Regions from separate parts of the Homo sapiens genome. Here regions 2 and 3 are each linked to region 1. Evidence: promoter capture Hi-C in human tissues and cell types (Jung and others, 2019). All regions are on one chromosome and are shown on one strand. The core of a region is centred on a gene start or on the middle of the fragment in contact, and the rest is flanking DNA. Distances in the headings are between cores, read along the strand shown.

Region 1 (4,117 bases), core at 379-2,878:
CTATAGATTAGTTTGCACTTCCTAGAGTCTCATATAAATGGAATCATACAGAGTCCCTGGCCTCTTTCACTGGGCATATTTATTTTATGATCCATCCATGTTGTTGAGCTACAGATCTTCCTTTGGATTGCTCAGTAATATTCCATCGTGTGGCTGGACCACCATTGGTCCCTGTTTTTTGTTTTTGTTTTTTGTTTTTTGATTTGGAGGTTGGACTGCAGTGGCTCGATCTCGGCTGACTGCAACCTCCGCCTCCCGGGTTCAAGCGATTCTCCTGCCTCAGCCTCCCAAGTAGCTGGGATTACAAGCACCGGCCATCAAGCCCAGCTAATTTTTTGTATTTTTTTTTAGTAGAGACGGGGTTTCACCATTTTGGCCAGGCTAGTCTCGAACTCCTGACCTCTTGATCTGCCCGCCTGGGCCTCCCAAAGTGCTGGGATTACAGGCGTGAGCCACCACGCCCGGCTCTTTCTTTCTTTTTTAATGTATTTTTTTCTTGTAGAGACGATGTCTCGCTGTGTTGCCCAGGCTGGTCTCAAATTCCTCCCTCCAGCGATACTCCCACTTCGGCATCCCAAAGTTTTGGAATTACAGACATGAGCCACTGCATCCAGCCGTTTGTCCCTGTCCTAATCATGAATTCCTGATTTTGACTTTTGTAAAAGGACTTGAGAATTTTACACGCTGTGACGTGAACCCAGTGGTCAGAAAAAATAGAAAAAAAAAAAAAAGGGGCCGGGCACGGTGGCTCATGCCTGCAATCCCAACACTTTGGGAGGCCGAGGCAGGCGGATCACCTGAGGTCAGGAGTTCGAGACCAGCCTGGCCAACGTGGTGAAACCTTATCTCTACCAAAAATACAAAACTTAGCCGGGCGTGGTGGCACGCGCATGTAGTCCCAGCTACTCGGGAGGCTGAGGCAGGAGAATCGCTTGAACCCGGGAGGCGGAGGTTGCAGTGAGCCGAAATCACGCCAATGCACTCCAGCCTGAGCGACAGAGTGAGACTCCTTCTCAAAAAGAAAAAAAAAAGGAAAAATAAATAAAAAAGAAAATAATACACCCGTAGGTCCCTCAAAAACCCTGGGTCCTCCCGCGGGGACAGTTAAGCCATCGGCGCCGTGAGCAGGAGGCAAGCCGGGCCAGGAGAGCCTTCGCGGCGCCTGCGGCCTGGGCGCCGCTGTTGCCCTGCCTGAGCACTTCAAGGCCTCACAATCCATTTGAGGTAGGTGCTCTAGGTGTTCCCATTTACTAATGAGGAAACTGAGAAGTGGCAGCGTTACACAGTCAGCCAAAGTCACGCAGATGGCGATGGATTGCACAGCATCCTATTACCAGAAAAAAGATGGGAAGGCACCGCCGTAAGCATCGAGTTGTGTTATAGATGATTTGCATTTTTCTGAAGGTTCTGGTATCAGCTGTAAGCCGAAGTCCTTGTTTCCTATTGATATGTTACGAAAAAACAAACAAAAAAAAACAAAAACAAAAGCCCTCCGTCCGGGGGGTGGAAGTCAAGCATACCCTACTCCACCCGACCCGACCAGACCCGAAAACTCCGTGCGCTGCATCGCTTGGCCAGGCCGGGGCCTCCCAGACCGGAAGTCAGGATGCGGGGCCGGAAGCTGAGCAAGGGGCGGCGCGGAGCTCTGTGGGCGGGTGGCTGTTGTTGGGGCCGTCGAGGCGGCGGCGACTCTGCGTCCCCGGCTCCTGATGGAGGCGGGGCCGCATCCCCGGCCGGGGCACTGCTGCAAGCCTGGGGGGCGGCTGGACATGAACCACGGCTTCGTGCACCATATCCGACGGAACCAGATCGCTCGGTACCGCCCCGCCCTGCGCCGCCGCCGCCACCACTCCTGGCCTGGCCTGGCCCGGCCCGACAGTCCCTGACTCCCGCTCGGCTCCCCGCAGGGACGACTATGACAAGAAGGTGAAGCAGGCGGCCAAGGAGAAGGTGAGGAGGCGGCACACGCCCGCGCCGACGCGGCCCCGCAAGCCAGACCTGCAGGTGTACCTGCCGCGACACCGAGGTGAGGCCGCCCGCCCCGCCTGCCTCCAGCCCGCGCGCTCTTCCTGCAACGCACTCCCCTTCTCTATAGGGAAAAACCACTTCTTACTCCTAAGGTTCAGCTCATCTCGTCTCTTTCCGGAACCTCCACCTCAGCGCTCCCAAATCTCCGCTGAATGATTCTCACCAAGAACTGGGACGACTCATAAGCCCCCAGTTAAGCATCGCTGTCAGAGTATCGGGGAGCCAGCAAGAAGTTTATCTGCCGGTTTGCCCCACCGTGCTGTATTTTAGTAAGGTGCTCCGCTACCTAGCAAAGAGAAAGTCTGGCACAGCGATGAGCGACCAGCACATAATTGCGGAATGAACCCAGTAAATGGCCTTTCCCCAGCTTCTCTGCTACCTAGAGATCACACTGGTTAATATATGACGGTCAATTTTTGTTAAGCATTATTACTTTTTTTAAAATGTTTTTATTTTATTTTTGAGACTAGGTCTCTGTCGCCCAGGCTGGAGTGCAATGGTGCGATCTGGGCTTACTGCAGCCTTAGCCTCCCGAGTACCTGGGACCACAGGCGTGTGCCACCACACCGGTTAATTTTGGTATTTCTTGTAGAGAAGGGGTTTCCCCGGCTGGGCGCGGTGGCTCTCGCCTGTAATCCCAGCACTTTGGGAGGCCGAGGCGGGCGGATCACGAGGTCAGGAGATCGAGACCATCCTGGCTAACATGGTGAAACCCCCGTCTCTACTAAAAATACAAAAAATTAGCCGGGCGTGGTGGTGGGCGCCTGTAGTCCCAGCTACTCGGGAGGCTGAGGCAGGAGAATGGCGTGAACCCGGGAGGCGGAGCTTGCAGTGAGCCGAGATCGCGCCACTGCACTCCAGCCTGGGCAACACAGCAAGACTCGGTCTCAAAAAAAAAAAAAAAAGAGAGAGAGAGAAGGGGTTTCTCCACGTTGTCCAGGCTGATCTCGAACTCCTGAGCTCAGGTGATCTGCCCGCATCGGCCTCCCAAAGTGCTGGGATTATAGGTGTGTGCCACTACCTTTGTTAGGCATTAGTGAAAGTGCTTTTAGATCTTACGTATATTAATTCATTGAGTCTTTATACAACCTCATAAGAAAGCTTCTGTCTGTTTCACAGTCAGGAAACAGGCACAGAGAGGTTAAACAACTTGCCCAAGATCTCAGCTAGTAAATGGCAGAGCCTGGATTTGAACCCAGGCAGAGCTCTATCCACCCTTCTGCTTTCCAGTACTTTTTGCTAGACAAATGTGCATTGTGTACCTACTGTGTGACAGGATTGTGCTGGCCTCAGAGCAGGGATGCAAAGGTAAATAAGTCCTTGATTGGCAGCACACCAAATGCTTACACTGGTCCGGGCGCGGTGATTCATGCCTGTGATCCTAGCAGTTTGGGAGGCCGAGGTGGGCGGATCCCTTGAGGCCAGGAGTTCGAAATTAACCTGGACAACATGGTGAAACCCCATCTCTACTAAAAATACAAAAATTAGCCAGGCATGATGGCAGGCGGCTGTAATCCCAGCTACTTGGGAGGCTGAGGAAGGAGAATTGCTTGAACCTGGGAGGCAGAGGTTGCGGTGAGCCGAGATTTAGCCACTGCACTCCAGCCTGGGCAACAGAGCAAGACTCCGTCTCAAAAAAAAAAAAAAAAAAACCACTTACACTGGACCCATAAGAAGATTGGGGCAGCTGGGTGCAGTGGCTCACGCCTGTAATCCCAGCACTTTGGGAGGCCAAGGTGGGTGGATCACCTGAGGTCAGGAGTTTGAGACCAGCCTGGCCAACATGGTAAAACCCCATCTCTACTAAAAATATGAAAATTAGCTGGATGTGGTGGCACTTGCCTGTAATCCCAGCTACTCGGGAGGCTGAGGCAGGAGAATCGCTTGAACCTGGGAGCGGAAGTTGCAGTGAGCCGAGATTGCACCACTGCACTCCAGCCTGGGCGACAGAGTGAGACTTCGTCTCAAAAAAAAGAAGACTGGGGCTTTCCTAACCGTATATTTTCCTGCAGCATCTCTATGGACAGGGCCTTCAGCAGCACCCCCCCTCTTCTTTCTTACTGTGGTTCATCCTTCCAGATGTCTCTGC
Region 2 (4,261 bases), core at 721-3,220, 280 kb before region 1:
AGAAAAGGAAGTTTGCAGGCCTGCTTGTCTTGCTGCCCAAGTGGGTCAACCTAATGTGAGTGGAGTGAATGAGGTAGTAAGGGCTTAACAGATGTCTTGTGATTCTGGGACAGGAGGCAGCTTCAAGTTCCTTTTCTTCCTCACCCCCACCTTACACCCATCCTTGGAAGCTGGGATACTGCTGACTCTCATGGCAGCCATAACGCTATCAGCGCCTGGCTTTGCCGACAAGGGGAATCTGGAAGAGAAGGGGAAGGACAGGGGAGACAAAGAGAGGTAAAGAGTGTTGCATCAAGCACATGTGTCAGAAGTGTTCAAACCAGAGCGCCTCCATTTTGAGTGAGGGCTAGAAAAATGAGGCTGGGACTTGCTAGGCTGCATTTCCTGAAAGCTAGGCATTCCTAGCCTCTAGGTGTTTATGGTTAAGAGAACAAATTAATAATGCTTACTAAACAGACCCAGACTTGAGAGAGTCCAGATATCCCGATATCTGGAGAACAAAGGCATTCCTAATTTTGCTTTAAAAATAATAATATTGATTATTGCAAAATATAGTAATTAGGGAAAATTAATCCTTTATCACAAACCCTTGTAGCAGAAGACATCTGCCCATATATACAAGCATTACAAGCATTGTACCTTAGTTGGATATGTCCCTCCTCTTATTTTCAGGAATGCCCTGCTGGAGTGCAGTGGCGATCTCGGCTCACTGTAGCCTCTGCCTCCCGGGTTCAAGCGATTCTCCTGCCTCAGCCCCGTGAGTAGCTGAGACAACAGGCTTGCGCCACCACGCCCGGCCAATATTTGTATTTCTAGTAGAGACGGGGTTTTGCCATGTTGGCCAGCTGGTCTTGAACTCCTGACATCAGGTGATCTGTCCGTCTCAGCCTCCCAAAGTGCTGGGATTACGCGTGAGCCACTGTGCCCAGCCACCACTTTACTTTCTTAATAAACTTGCTTTTACTTTGCACTGTGGACTTACTCTGAATTGTTTCTTGCGTGAGATCGAAGAACCCTCTCTTGGGGTCTAGATCGGGACCCCTTTCCTGTAACACATGGGCCTTGGGCTGATCTCCAAGATTAAGAGGGCAAGATACTCAGCTGCAAGGGTCAGCTGTCGCTGACCCCAGCAGCTGCTCTGCCTTGGCCAACTTACCGGATTTAAATCGCCCAGTGACAGCTTTTCCTCCAGTATTTTCAAAATGCTCCCAATATCCTCACGTTAGAACAATCCAGAAATAGTCTTATGGTAAAACTCTTTTGGGAAATGTGAAAGTAGAGTCCTCCCACCTTTTCCTTTGCAACGCTTTTGCCCCAACCTCGATCGCCCAGGCAGCACATTTTTTCCGGCACCCCCACCAAGGGAAGAACAGAGACATCTCCAAACCAGCTGCCCTGCGCCAAGCTGTTACAAAATAGAGCCACAAGTCTCCCGGTTTATGCAAACATATTTGGCTCGGTGTCTAGGATCTTCTTTTTCAAACTCAGAAGGAGATCACAGGCACACGGCCGCGGTGCTGTGTACGCCCCTCTGAAAGGAAGTTCTGCAAGTCGACCGACTTCACTGGCTTCACTGAAGTCCGGTCCGAAACCACCGGAAAGTTGCAGGCGCACAGTATACGTTCAGCTGTGTCCAAGAAATAACCTATCAATCACTGCCTTAAGCTTTGTTTCCTTCCTGAATTTTCTTATTTTCACGAATATTTATGCTTTCACAAACTGTATGTCATTTCCTCTCCAGAACCAAGGGGGGCTCGCCCCAGCCTGGCCCCCGCCCCGGGTGCGTCCCTGCAGGGGGCGCCCTGCTCTGGCAATGCCCACCGCACCGCAGGGCTGACTGGCCGCGCGCCCGGGGGCGGGGGCCGCCGCGGAGGCATCGTGCTCTCCGATTGGCCGTCCGCGTCCTCGTGACGTCAGACCCCGCCCACGCGCCCCTCCTCCGCATCTGAGCGGGGGAGCGGCGGCCCCCAGCTGAATGGGCGCGAGAGCGGCGCTGGGGGCGGGTGGGGGCGCGGGGTACCGGGCTGGCGGCCGGCCGGCGCCCCCTCATTAGTATGCGGACGAAGGCGGCGGGCTGCGCGGAGCGGCGTCCCCTGCAGCCGCGGACCGAGGCAGCGGCGGCACCTGCCGGCCGAGGTACGTGGCGCAGCCCCCTCCTCGGCGTCGCGGGGGCCCGCGGGCTGGGGGCTGCGGCGGCGACTTGTCTCTTCCCGGGCCGGCTGGGCGCGGCGTTTCCGCCTCGAACCCCGCGGGCAGCGCCCAGGGCACGACACCCTCAGGCGAGCCCGGCTGGGGCGCGGGCGGAGGGTCGTGGTCCCGGGCCGTGTGGACCGGGCGGGGGGTCCCACGCAGGTGTGTACGCGGTAGAGGGTGGGGCGGACCGCCGGGTGTCGGGTCCCGCCGCAGTGGCCCTTTCCCCGCCGCTTTCCGCTGCAGCTCGGGATTTAATTCATTGCTGGAAGCTTCGGAGTTAGCAGAGCCGAGTTAACTCGTTTTCCTGGGATGGGCTTAGGGAACCCCCTGCAAGGTTACTAGCAGCTCCTGAAACCTCTCTCTGCATCCATCGGGGAGGCGTGATGTGGGGCCGCTGGTAGAAATTTGCCGGTGACCTTCCCTGCACCCTCTCTGCAGCCAGCCTTGCGGAGAAGACAGGTTTTGGCGACCTTTTGATTTCTTCTGAATTGTAAGCCGTGGCTTGACGCGGGTGTGCATTCATTGTACGCCTTGCGTGTGTAAGTAACGCAGGGTTTTCCGAGAGCATCCCCGAGGAGCCCTGCCCTTGCCTCACACCCGCTTGGTGACCTTGGCAGACACTGATCCCCCTGTGGGGCTCGGGCTCATGGTCTCTCCTGAGAAGCTTACCCTGCCGATGGCCGAGGTCCCTTCCAGGCCCCGGGTTTTTCTAATCATAAAAAAATACGTTTACGAGGGTAGAGGATCCTGCAGAATCTCTAGCTGACTCGGAAGACGAATTTTATATCCTCATGTCTTAAGTCATGCATGCGGCTTTTGCTTAATTAGGCATCGTTCATTTGAAGGGGAAAATGGTTTTATGTGCTGCGCTTCATCTGGCACCAGTGGTTGCCTGCTCCTCGTGGCAGGGCCGTGCTGGGTGTCACAGAGAGGAAGGAGACTCATCTCCTGCCCTCTGGTGTTTAGCTGCCCTCCCCCGGGCTTATGGCTGCTAATCCTTTTCCACGGAAGGATACAGCTGCTGAAACTGTGGAAGAGGAATCCATTTCTGCTGCATGAAGGGGCACAGACTTGAATACAGTCAGGACAGGTTGTGGTTTCACTTGTGTAATCCTGAGAGCTTGACAGCTTCGAGGAGTGTCTAACATTGCTAGTAACAGAGCCTAGAAGCACCTGAATTCCAGCTGTCACTTGGAGAAGGAGAGATTCATACGAACTGCGAGAGCATATAACCAGCATGTCTTGAGTCTTTTACCCATGTGCCTGTTATATGGATGCTGCTGTTTTTGTAAGATGAAATGACCCTTGGATATTCTGGGTTATGATCAGCATTTCTTCGTCTAGGCGAGAAAAGAAACAGGTGAGATAGGAAGGCATGAAGGGGCTCATGGAAGAGAGAGGGCTGACAGGCAGAAATTTTGAGAGCTCACATTTACGACTATTTGGACAGTTCTTATAATTTTGGCATAAATTGTAAATTGTTGCATGTTATCAAAATAGATTGGTGATGAACGTTAAGGATATATCCGTGGCAGAATAAGAACACACTCTTTGTTCTTTGGTTTGCTCCTCTAGTTCTTCCCTGCTTGCCTTGTGGGACTATTTGCAGCAATGAGGGGAATTTATCTAGCAGGTTGGCCTCGGGAGGCAATGAATGAAAAGAGGTTGGTGAGTCCTCTGTGGGAGTCCATTCCAGGTCCTGGAGGGCTGAGGTGGGTGTCTTGGAGCCAGCAGTTTCTGGGAGAAGGGATAAAGCTCACCTTCCACACCCTCCTGGCTCCTGAGGAGCGATTTAATCCGCACTGCCTGTGGACACGATGGAGGACTGAGATCACTCCCGAAGGGCATGCTCCGTGGTTTTAGTCTGCTGGGAAGCTCTGGCAGAAGTAAAACAACTGGGAATATACACATGTTAATGATGCTCCAAGCTGCCTAACTGCTGAGGAAGGAAAAGCAAGGGCTGGATCAGTGTGGGTGGCATAAGTTAGCAAAGGCATCCAAAGTGGGGTGAATCACAGGCCTGGTGTGGGAGGAAACCATAAATATGACGGTGACACGCAGGCTCGCC
Region 3 (3,889 bases), core at 26-2,525, 310 kb before region 1:
CTGTGAACATTTAGGTACCAGTTTTTGTGTAGGGTGGATGGACATAGGTTTCATTTGTCTAAGGTAAAAATACCTAGAGGTGGAATTTCTGGGTCACAAGATACATGTATGTTTAACTGTATTTAAAAAAAAAAAAAGCCGGGAGTGGTGGCTCTCGCCTGTAATCCCAGCACTTTGGGAGGCCAAGGCAGGCGGATCACGAGGTCAAGAGATCGAGACCATCCTGGCCAACATGGTGAAATCCCATCTCTACTAAAAATACAAAAAATTAGCCGGGAGTGGTGGCAGGCACCCGTAGTCCCAGCTACTCGGGAGGCTGAGGCAGGAGAATCACTTGAACCCAGAAGGCAGAGGTTTCAGTGAGCTGGGATTGTGCCACTGCACTCCAGCCTGGGGACAGAGTGAGACTCCGTCTCAAACAAACAAACAAAAAAACCTCCATGAGGAGGGGGTGGCCACAGCTGTTACTGAAAGTAACCATTTTGGCTGGGTGCAGTGGCTTATGCTTGTAATCCCAACACTTTAGGAGGCTGAAGCGGGTGAATCACTTGAGGCCAGGAGTTTGAGACCAGCCTGGGCAACATGGAGAAACCCCATCTCTACAAAAAATAAATAAAAAAAAAAATTAGCGGGGCATGGTGGCAGGTGCCTATGGTCCCTGCTACTAGGAAGGCTGAGGTGGGAAGATCACTTGAGCTCAGGAGGCAGAGGTTGCAGTGAGCTGAGATGGCACCACTGCTCTCTAGCCTGGGCTACAGAACAAAACCCTGTCTCAAAAAACAACAACAAAAGTAACTGTTTAATTTGCTGAACTAACCAATAGATTTCATAATTGGTGCTAACTTTGGGTTGTACCCAAGAAAATGCTTCTTCATGTTACTAATGGAAGCGGACTAAGTAAAGTTGAAATAGATACACTGAGATTATTTACACCAAAAGTTTGACCAAACCTTTTGGAAATTTGCCTTAAGCTCCACTGATTACAATTAAGCAGGATGATTCATTAAGAATGTAAATAATGGAAAGGTCAGCCTTTGAAAACCAATCTGAGTGCTGAATTTTTACTGCTGTAGACTTAGTCTTACCCCAGGAAAGATAAACGGAATTCTTTGTAACTCAAGGGACAAGTTGCCTGGGCTTTCACTCTCTTGTAGATGTACCTTCAAGCCCAATTGTAATAGAAAATGGCATGATGAAGCTTTTGTGTTTGGGGAATTTGAACGGGAAAAATGGGTCTGACTCTGGCTGGCCCCCGGGGAAGTGGGGCAGAGGAAAATGGCTTCTGGCCCTACATAGAGGTGTTGCAGTCTCACCAACCCACCTTAATGTAGCAGTTTCTCTTTGTCTTAACTGGTACCCCAGGTCCTTTGTCCTATGTCCAAGAAAATTAGGAACGCAGACACAAACATGGTGTTGGAGGGAAAGTTTAATAAGTGAAAGAAATAAAGCTCTCTGCAGCAGAGAGAGGAGTCAGAGTGGATTGCCAGGTTACAGCTGAGAAACCCCTCTCATCTCTGTAGCAGTTTGAGTAACTTCTCTTATCAGTAAGGCTGTCTGTGCGACGCCCCTTATCTCATGCAGCTGTGGGTATGTTTTTAGGTAAGCACAAAGCACAGCTTCTCTTGTTTGTATACTGTGAGTTTGTTTTAGGTAATCCCCCCTCCTCCGTGTGCAAGTTCTCACCATGTATCTGACTGAAAAAGGGAGAAAATTTTTTCCTGGGAGCTTGCTAATTAGACAAAGAATAAAGAACTCCTGTGCGGGATCCTGTTTGTTTATCTGTCCAGGTCCAGCCTGAGTTTTGTTTTGTTTTATTTTCCCCAGGTTGTTTTATTTTTGTCTGTTCCAGCAACTTTTCAGGCAGGCTGCTTCTGCACTCTGAATTTTTCCCAAATGATTTTTCCCACTTTCCTTCTCCCTTAGAGGCATCCTGAACTACTCTGTTTGTCTTGGCAAAACCTTAGAGAAAAGGCTGCAGGTGTCTGGTTAGGCTGAAACTAGGGACTGTGGCCTAAAAAGCTCATGTGAGAGGCTGGACTAGCTTAATCTGTAACCGGGGAAGTGGGATCATCAGAACTGGAAGCTACACTGGGAGCTGAATTGTAGGACAGCAGCAGCAGCAGGTTCCTGGGAGGTCTCCGGGGACCAAGACTGCAGACATTGAATTTCCTGGCAATCTTGGTTGTCCTCTGTATAAATGAATCATTGTTTATCATTCTGCAGACGCTTCTGGTGTTAGAATTTTACACTCATACCCTTTGTTATGTGATTTTGCAGTGCCCTCCATTAGTGTGAGTGCAGTATACCTCCACCAAGCCCGGCAGCCCTGTAGCCTGATGCAGAGCCTCCCAGCCAACCCACAGCCCTGAGGGCAAGGAAAACAAAAGCTCATTGTTGTATGCTCATGGTTTGTTATGCAGAATTATTATAGCATTTGCTGACTGATACATCTACCAAATACCTGGTCTTTTCTTTCATAATAATGCAAACCCCAATTTTTAACTGGCTCTTTGGAATAAGGCTAAATTTCCCAGCCTTTCTTACAGCTAGATATGATCATACTAGTGAGTTCTGGTCAATTAGATGTTAGTAGAAGTGGTTGGGCATGGTGGCTCACGCCTGTAATCCTAACACTTTGGGAAGCTTAGGCAGGCGGATCATTTGAGGTCAGGAGTTTGAAACCAGCCTGGCCAACGTGGTGAAACCCCATCTGTACTAAAAATACAAAAAAAGTTAGCCAGGTGTAGTGGCGGGCGCCTATAATCCCAGACACTCGGGAGGTTGAGGCAGGAGAATTGCTTGACCCCAGGAGGCGAAGGTTACAGTGAGCCAAGATCGTGCCACTGCACTCCAGCCTAGGTGACAGGGTAAGACCCCATCTCAAAAAAAAAAAAAGTTAGTAGAAGTGTTTGTGGCAACTTCTGAGACCTTTCCTTAAAAGCCAATGGCATGCAATCTTCATCTCTGTCTTCATCCTGCTGTCTGGAACAAGGATATAACAGCTGGAGCTCTAGCTGACATTTTGTATCCTGAGAAAGTTGCTCGTGCCCTAGGGAAGATGGAGCTGTGAGCTACCTGGAGCTACCTGGATTATTCTATGAGAGAGAAACAAACTGTTCTTTAAGCCTCTTCATCTCTACCATTCCCCTGCCGAACTTACTCCTGACACAGTTCTCAAGCCAGCTCTTACTAAGTCTGAAGAATAATTGTGATATTACTTATGAGCAGACTACTGACTATTGTGTAGCAATGATCAACTGTTATCTATACAAAGCAAAATGGGTACAGCACCAAATAGTTTAAAGTCGATCTCTCAGGAGGGAGGATAGAGAGTGATTGATAACAGTATTGGTTCCATTAGGAGTTATAAAAATGTTCTACTATGAAATAGTGGTGATGGTTGCACAACTCTGTGAATACACTAAAAAACAGAACTGCATACTTTAAAAGGGTGAATTTTGGCCCAGTGTGGTGGCTCATGTCTATAATCCCAGCACTTTGGAAGGCCGAGGCAGGAAGATTGTTTGAGCTCAGGGGTTCGTGATCAGCGTGGGCAACGTGATGAGAGCCCGTCTCCACAACAAAATTTTATAATTAGCTGGGTGTGGTGGTGTGCACCTATAGTCCTAGCTACTTGGGAGACAAAGGTGGGCGGATCGCTTGAACCTAGGAGGTCGAGGCTGAAGTGAGCAGTGATCATGCCACTGCACTCCAGCCTGGGTGACAGCAGAGTGAGACCCTGTTTCGAAAAAAAGCGGGGGTGGTGAATTTTATGGTACTTGAATTATATTGCAATAAAGCTGTTACCAAAAAAATCAATCTCTTGTTTATTGTTTATGCCTTTGTCTTGTTTTTGTTTGTTTGTTTGTTTTGAGATGGAGTCTTACTC

Evidence for each region. Contacts are between HindIII fragments. The study calls those that stand out against the background at their distance.
Region 2: the fragment with the promoter of ST3GAL5 here is called in contact with the fragment with the promoter of C2orf68 in region 1 in 1 of the 25 tissues and cell types used here (adrenal gland).
Region 3: a contact is called between a fragment that was not itself captured here and the fragment with the promoter of C2orf68 in region 1, in 1 of the 25 tissues and cell types used here (adrenal gland).

The regions. Positions count from the first base shown.
Region 1 is chr2:85,609,577-85,613,693 of GRCh38, reverse strand. C2orf68 (chromosome 2 open reading frame 68) reads left to right here and starts at 1,628. Exons shown (of 4, transcript NM_001013649.4): 1 at 1,628-1,816; 2 at 1,908-2,026; 3 at 4,108-4,117. The coding sequence starts at 1,710. It also overlaps a transcript of USP39 not described here. RefSeq lists silencers at 1,128-1,300, 1,787-1,856, 1,476-1,857 and an enhancer at 1,287-1,516. The HindIII fragment of the contact is 29,292 bases long and covers 1-4,117 here.
Region 2 is chr2:85,886,699-85,890,959 of GRCh38, reverse strand. ST3GAL5 (ST3 beta-galactoside alpha-2,3-sialyltransferase 5) reads left to right here and starts at 1,970. Exons shown (of 7, transcript NM_003896.4): 1 at 1,970-2,136. The coding sequence starts at 2,055. It overlaps ST3GAL5-AS1 (ST3GAL5 antisense RNA 1), which reads right to left and starts at 1,680. Exons shown (of 3, transcript NR_110569.1): 1 at 1,157-1,680. RefSeq lists silencers at 1,569-2,188, 2,229-2,348 and enhancers at 2,519-2,598, 2,290-2,790, 3,129-3,258, 3,269-3,388. The HindIII fragment of the contact is 1,894 bases long and covers 767-2,660 here.
Region 3 is chr2:85,919,550-85,923,438 of GRCh38, reverse strand. No RefSeq gene overlaps it. Among named protein-coding and RNA genes, the nearest start is that of ST3GAL5-AS1, 32 kb to the right of the region's middle. The HindIII fragment of the contact is 6,732 bases long and covers 1-3,889 here.